Regions from separate parts of the Homo sapiens genome. Here region 2 is linked to region 1. The links are contacts of gene promoters, found by promoter capture Hi-C in blood cells and fetal thymus (Javierre and others, 2016). All regions are on one chromosome and are shown on one strand. The core of a region is centred on a gene start or on the middle of the fragment in contact, and the rest is flanking DNA. Distances in the headings are between cores, read along the strand shown. Region 1 overlaps PIK3R5 (phosphoinositide-3-kinase regulatory subunit 5). Region 2 holds the start of VAMP2 (vesicle associated membrane protein 2).

What was found. The method cuts DNA at HindIII sites, captures the fragments that hold promoters and counts their contacts. A CHiCAGO score of 5 or more calls a contact.
Region 2: the fragment with the promoter of VAMP2 here is called in contact with a fragment that was not itself captured in region 1 in 1 of 17 cell types (naive CD8 T cells); the score reaches 5.6 in naive CD8 T cells.

The regions. Positions count from the first base shown.
Region 1 is chr17:8,954,937-8,958,294 of GRCh38, reverse strand. The region is part of intron 1 of PIK3R5 (phosphoinositide-3-kinase regulatory subunit 5); the gene reads left to right. Among named protein-coding and RNA genes, the nearest start is that of PIK3R5, 9.1 kb to the left of the region's middle. RefSeq lists enhancers at 2,612-3,111, 3,112-3,358. The HindIII fragment of the contact is 2,450 bases long and covers 500-2,949 here.
Region 2 is chr17:8,161,139-8,164,496 of GRCh38, reverse strand. It overlaps VAMP2 (vesicle associated membrane protein 2), which reads left to right and starts at 1,549. Exons shown (of 5, transcript NM_014232.3): 1 at 1,549-1,619; 2 at 2,128-2,248; 3 at 2,731-2,889; 4 at 2,973-3,024. The coding sequence starts at 1,618. RefSeq lists silencers at 1,182-1,241, 1,372-1,471, 1,632-1,821, 2,112-2,221 and an enhancer at 2,332-2,381. The HindIII fragment of the contact is 9,788 bases long and covers 1-3,358 here.

The sequences.
Region 1 (3,358 bases), core at 475-2,974:
TTTTTTTTTTTTTTGAGACAGTCTCACTCTGGAGTGCAGTGGTGCGAACCTCCACCTGCCAGGTTCAAACAATTCTCATGCCTCAGCCCCTGAGTACCTGGGATTACAGGCACCCACTACCACGCCTGGCTAATTTTTGTATTTTTAGTAGAGACGGGGATTCACCATGTTGGCCAGGCTGCTCTCGAACTCCTGGCCTCAAGTGATCCACCAGCCTTGGCCTCCCAAAGTGCTGGGATTATAGGAGTGAGCCACCGCATCCCACCTTTCTTTAGGATTTTTGCATGAAATGAATTTGACCTCTATTTTCCTTTTCTGTGCTGCCGTTGTCAGTTTTTGATATACTGACTTTGCAAATGATTTTGGAAGCACGTTACCTTCTCCCACGCCCTGTGACAGCTTATAGAGCGGGGAATGAGCTGCTCCTTGGAAGCTGGGAGAACGGCTCCAGTCTTGAGGTCTTCCACTGTGGGATTCTTGGCTTCCCACTCCCCAAGCTTCCTTCTCTTCTCTCTTCCTCAGTCCTCCCAGGTACAAATCTGTAAACCTCAGAGCTCCCAGGCTCATGCCCGAGAGCCATCTTTGATTCTTGGCTTCCAATGTTCAGCCACTAGGTCCCATGGGTCCTTACTTTATATGCCCTTCAGCTAACAAGCATGCCTATTTCCACACTGAACTGGGCATATCCACCTTGAGTGAATTCCAGGTGCTGCATTTGGAGGATGCTGAGCAACCACTTCATATCCAGAGATAGGTGACCAGGATAGCGATGACAGAATATGAAGTAATTAAGAAGTAGCGAGGTTTTTCTCCAAGAAGAGAAGACAGAGGAGAAGTAGTATCTGTCTTCAGATGTTTGACGAGCAGTGTCCTTTGAAAAAGGTGAAGACTTCTCAACTGGGTGTCATTCTCTGGAATGGAAAAGGGATGACAGAAGGAAAATTGTAAGAAAATAGACTCCAGCTCACTAGAAGGAAGATCTCAGAGAAATTCAGAGCAGGTCAACAGTGGAATGGGAGGCTTCGTGGTGGCTAGTTTCCCGTTGGGGAAGTATGCAGGGAAAATACATGTTATATATTATGGAAATGATAGCCGTGAGAAAGGAGACCAATATAGCTTATTTTTAAAGAGCCTGTAGTTCTCTAAATCATGGTGGCCATGTCTGACTGGTTGTGTAAACGCTGGTTGTTCTGAGAACATGATTTGAGTTTGAGTAGTTCAGTGACCTTGAATAAACAGGTCCCAAAGCTGGGCAGTTTGCTCAGAAACCCCACAGCCCTGCTTCACAGCCCGTTCTCCGCAGCAGAAGCACCTTGGCTGTGAGAAAACCATAGCCATTCATGGATACTGGGATCCTCGCCCACATCCTCTGCTGGGAGCATGGGCTTTTCTTGAGGTCTCTTGTTCTTGGCTCCTTCTGATACTTGGTAAAATAAACTAATTGAACACCATTTCAAAATTGCCTTCCTCCGTGAGTGTCCCAGATAAGATCTTGGGGCCAACCTATCTCACCTCCAGGTTGAGCTGGGAATTGATGTCCTCTTGTTCTTGGGGTTTTCACGTCAATGTTTCATAGGTCTTTGCACTGTGCATTCACTTCTGTACCATGTTGAGAGTTTCATTTTGAGAAAACGAAAAGCTCTGCGCTCTCCTTGGCCTGTTATTGTGCTTAAGAGAACACAGGGGGCTGTGATGTGATGTACGGGCTACAGGATGGGAATAGGAGATGTAATCTCTAGTCCTGGCCCCTAATTACTTCCTCATCTTGCTGAGTCTGTTTCCTCCTGGACCAACTGGACTCTATGATTCTGACCACCTGGGAGTTTTCAAAGCCTGCTCTCCAAGAGTTTTCTTGTGGGAGCTGCTCTGATGGGCTGAGCAGAGAGGGGACCTGCTCCTTCCCTCATGGTGCCACCTTATGACAGGACTCCCAGTGACTATGAGTCCCTCTTCAGACCTCAATGGCAGAAACCCACCCTCTAGCCCATGCTTCTGCTGGAAGGCTTCCTTTCAGGTCACTGGTGGCTCTGGAATGGCAAGTTCCAATAGTCTCTTCCCAACCTGCATCTTTTTTTTTTTTGAAGTCTCCATAAAGTCTGATGCCCGACAAATTTTTGTTTTATTTTTTATTTTTGAGAAAGGGTCTCACTCTGTCACCCAGACTGGAGTACAGTGGCACGATCACAGATCACTGTAGTGTCAACCTCCCCAGGCTCAGATGATCCTCCTGCCTCAGTCTCCTGAGTAGCTGGGACTACAGGTGTATGCCACCACGCCCAGCTAATTTTTTGTGTGTGTTTTTTGTAGAGACAGGGTCTCACTATGTTGCCCAGGCTGTTCTCAAACTCCTGGGCTCAAGTGATCTACCTGCTTCGGCCTCCAAGTACATGCGGGTTATTTTCACTTGATGCCCTATTTCAACTTGAGCAATATCCAGAGCCCAACTCTGCATCCACAAAGCAGGCTTCCTGTGCAGACTTCCCCATTTCTGTCTCTGCTGAAACCAGACTCCCAGCCTTGAAACCTTGGACTCATCTCCGAGTCCTCCCTCCATCTTCCTTGTTCCCCACTCCCCAGCCCGTTTTGATGGTGCTTCCTTTCTCCATGGCTCTTGTTTCTCTCACTTCCCCATTGTTCTCTCTCCTACCCAATTTGGCTTTATTTACCATATGCCTCTGGTGGGCCTTTTGGACCACAGGCTCTTCCTCTCTTCACCAGGAGATTCTTCTTATGAAAACTTCTATGTCACTGTGTTCAGATACTTTGATGGCACCCCACTGCTTAGGGAGAGTCCAGAGTCCTTAGTCTTCTGTTCAGGTTTCGAAGTTGAGTCCCACTCCTTTCTCCACGAATCATCACGCTCTCCTCCAGCCAGACTGCCTGACTCAGTTTTCCCAAGACCTAACGTGTGTTCTTGCCTCACTCATCCCCTTCCCAATGAGGGAAGCTTTCCAATCATTTTGTTCAGTGCTGACTCTCCAGTGCCTTGCAGGGGCCAGCACTTGTCATTCAATCAGTGCTTGCTGAATGAGTGATTGCCTGGTCGAGCAGCCAGCATGGAAGAGGCCCGGGCCTCAGCCTTGGATGACTGATGATCGGGCAGGCTGGGCTGCTCCCCATCTGAGACCTCTGTGGGGTTCGGTCATCCTCCCCTCAAGGACCCTCCAGACATATCACTGGTCTTCTGTGCACAACTGCAAGGGCTTCAGACACCAGTGGCTTTGTGATCCACTGTGGGACAAGGCAGGTGTCCTCCTCTGGGCTGCTTCAGACCCCTGAGCCTCTGGCAAACTCCAGATGCAAACTCCAGGTGCTGAGAACCCTCTGCTTGGGAATCTTTTTTTTTTTTTTTTTTTTG
Region 2 (3,358 bases), core at 300-2,799, 790 kb after region 1:
GCTGGGAAATGACACCTCTGGTGACAGAGCCACTCTCCGGGCTTCTGTGGGGAGCGGGTGGGGCACTGCAGTGGGGGAGGATCTCACACCCGGAGGCCCTGGGAAGCCAGGGTGGGGGAGGGAGGAAGCTGGTTCCTGTTTGTCTTAGAGATCAAGGCCATCAGCCTCCCTGCACCTTCCAGGGATGTAGTAAGCACCCCCACCCCAGGGCCAAAGGGCCTCGCCTAAAATGCCTCCTGCACCCTTGAGGCTTGCTTTGACCCCCTGCACTCCACCAGAGCGACAGCTCCCCTGGTCCCATCTTCTCTGACAAGCTGGGTGGGAGTGTATACAGCTGCTGGGTGTGCTTAGAGGGCCTAATGGAGACCAGCCAGGGATAATCTCCTATGTTATCCACATCAAGCCATTTAACAAATATGGATTTAGTACCTACATATGCAATGTATTTGGGGTCCAGAGAGAGGAGGGCAACGGTCCAAGGTCACACCTGCGAGGCGAATACGCATGTAAAGCAGCACCTTGTAACCTGTGCCCACTGTGCCTACTACTAAAGAAAAAAAAATGAGAGAAAAAGAAAAAAGGCTTTTTTTTTTTTTTTGGCCCAGGCCCTGTGCCTGGGACCAAAGCCTGAGCCCTTTCCTGCAGTCGGGTCGCTGACCTAAGCCTGGGGCAAAGCTAGGTCTTGGCCAGTCAGCAGCCACCACGTGAAGCAGCCCCTGCCCCCATCACCCCCGGCAGCCTTGTGCCCTCCTCCTCGGGGTCCTCAGCTCACCCCACCTCAGTCGGGCCTGCTCCAGCGGTTAAGTACCCCTAGTCTGAACCTTAATCGTGAGGCGGGGCAGCCCCCTCCCCACACCCTGTAGACACTCCCCCGTCCTCCGCCCCCTGGACTTGTTTGGGCGGGAAGAGCCTGCCTCATCTTTTCTTCCTACCCTCCTACCCAGTGGCCAGGGACCCCAGGCTTCCTCTGAGACATCCACCAGCGGTGATGGGTTGGGACCAATCTCCCCCACTCCTCTCCACCCTAGCAGTAAGGTCCCCGCTCTCGATACTGCCCCAGCACCTGCACTGGCCCTCTCTGATTTCCCAACTCCAGCCCATTCCAAGTGCTGAAGGCGGGTCGCTAGGTGCTGGGACCTGGGCGCGGGGCAAGACCTTGGGCTGTGTGGGGTGCAGGCTGGTTTACTGGGTTCACGATTGAGGGAGTGGTCTGGGGGTTAGGTGTAGGGCCAGGCTGCGTTGTGCTCTAAGGGGCAGGCGGCAGGCGGTTTGGGGGGGCTGTGGTCAGACAGGGTGGGGTGGCGGTGGGTTTGGGGAAGCCGCAGCAGCCCGCCTTGGGGTCCCGCGAGTGCCGAGGGAGCTGCCGGGGCATGGTGGCGCGGGGCCCGTGGTCCTGCCCGGCACGACCCCCGCCCCGCAGCGCCCCGCAGCGCCCCGCCCCCGCGGCCCCGCTCGCGACGCGTCTCCCGCGGCGCCCCGCCCCCGCCCGCAGTGCCCGGATGCGGGTGACGCGCGGCCGCCATCTTTCCGTCCCGGGCAGCCAGCGCCAGTCGGAGCCAGCGCGAGCCGCCGCCGCCATCACTGCCGCTGCCAAGTCCTCCACCCGCTGCCCCCGCCATGTGAGTCGGCCGCCCGCCACCCTCACCGCGCTTCCCTGCGCCGGCCGCCGCCCTTGGCAACCGGCCGTCGGGAGTGCCCGGGGTCTCTCCTGCGTTCCCCGCGCCCCGGGGCCAGGCCCAAGCCGGTGACTGCGCGCGGGCGGCCGAGGAGCCCCGCGTCCCGGGCTGGCCGGCTCGGGCGATGGCCGCGGGAAGGAGCGGACCCAGTGTCCTCCTGCCCCTCCCCGCCCCTGTCACCGCGGCCGCCTGTCTTTTCGGGTCGACCCGGATCGCATCTGTGAGGTCGCCCTCAGTTGACAGGCGGGGAAACTGAGGCCGGGGGGGCCTCGCTCAAGGTCACGCAGCTCATCGGCGGCAGGGCTGGACCGAGACCAGGGCTTACATCGGGTGGCCTTCCTCCCGAAAAGGAGGACTGGAGGGACGAGGATGGACAGGTGGATGGGCGGAGCCCTGGCTGCGGGGCCGGGAGGCTGCAGGCCCTGGGTCTTAATCCGTCCCTGCTCCTCAGGTCTGCTACCGCTGCCACGGCCCCCCCTGCTGCCCCGGCTGGGGAGGGTGGTCCCCCTGCACCCCCTCCAAACCTCACCAGTAACAGGAGACTGCAGCAGACCCAGGCCCAGGTGGATGAGGTGAGTGTGGGGGGAGTCAAAAGCAGTAGGAGGGACCCTGGGGGTTGGCGTATAGGTGTAGGGGCCCATGTTGGTTTGGGAGTGATGACAGTTCACGCCTGTGGGTTTGCGGACAAAGATACCATGCCCCATCCCTGTCTCCCTGTCAGCACGCACTTGGAAGGGCGCTGGGGGTGTTAATCAGCTTTGCTAGCCTGGGGTGTGCCAGCCTGGGCAGGTGTGCTCTGGTGATGGACAGAGCGCCTGAGGTTCCATAGAGGGAGGGTGTTGCTATGACATCTGAGATGTCACCAGCATGCCCCTGATGTGTGCTCCTTGCATGTCCCCAGGTGTGCTAGGCATGTTCTGTGTGTCCTTGGCATGTTAACCTGGCAGTATCAGGGTGCATGTTCCATGTGTGGCACGGTGGGCACATGTTTGAGGATTGCCCTCACTGAGGTGGGCCTTGGCACACCCCCCTGCCTCGTGGGCCCTTCTCCCAGGTGGTGGACATCATGAGGGTGAACGTGGACAAGGTCCTGGAGCGAGACCAGAAGCTGTCGGAGCTGGACGACCGTGCAGATGCACTCCAGGCGGGGGCCTCCCAGTTTGAAACAAGCGCAGCCAAGCTCAAGCGCAAATACTGGTGGAAAAACCTCAAGGTAAGGGTGGGGACAGGAAGGAGGACAGGTGGGTGAATGGGGTATCATAGTTTGTCTTACTGATCCTCGCCTCTCACCCCCAGATGATGATCATCTTGGGAGTGATTTGCGCCATCATCCTCATCATCATCATAGGTGAGTAGGGTGAGAATGGCCGGGGCCCTTTCCCTGGAGAGGTTTCCCCAGTGGATTCTAGGTTTTGAAGGTCATTAATCTAGTTTTTACTCTTCAGCCAAAAACACATATAGCTGCTAATGGCAATTCTGATTCATCTAGAGCCAAAAACTTTGATGTTATTTAGCCTGCATTTTGCCTAGTTCTTGGCAGTCTTGTTAACATTTGGAAATAGGAAAGCTGGTGTATCCATTGAGGACCCTTTAGGCCTAAGAGCCCAGTCTGAGAACCCTGGAATTGAGGAGTGGGAGAAAGGAAAGGACCAGGGGCTTGAGACATGACCAGGAAGCCAACC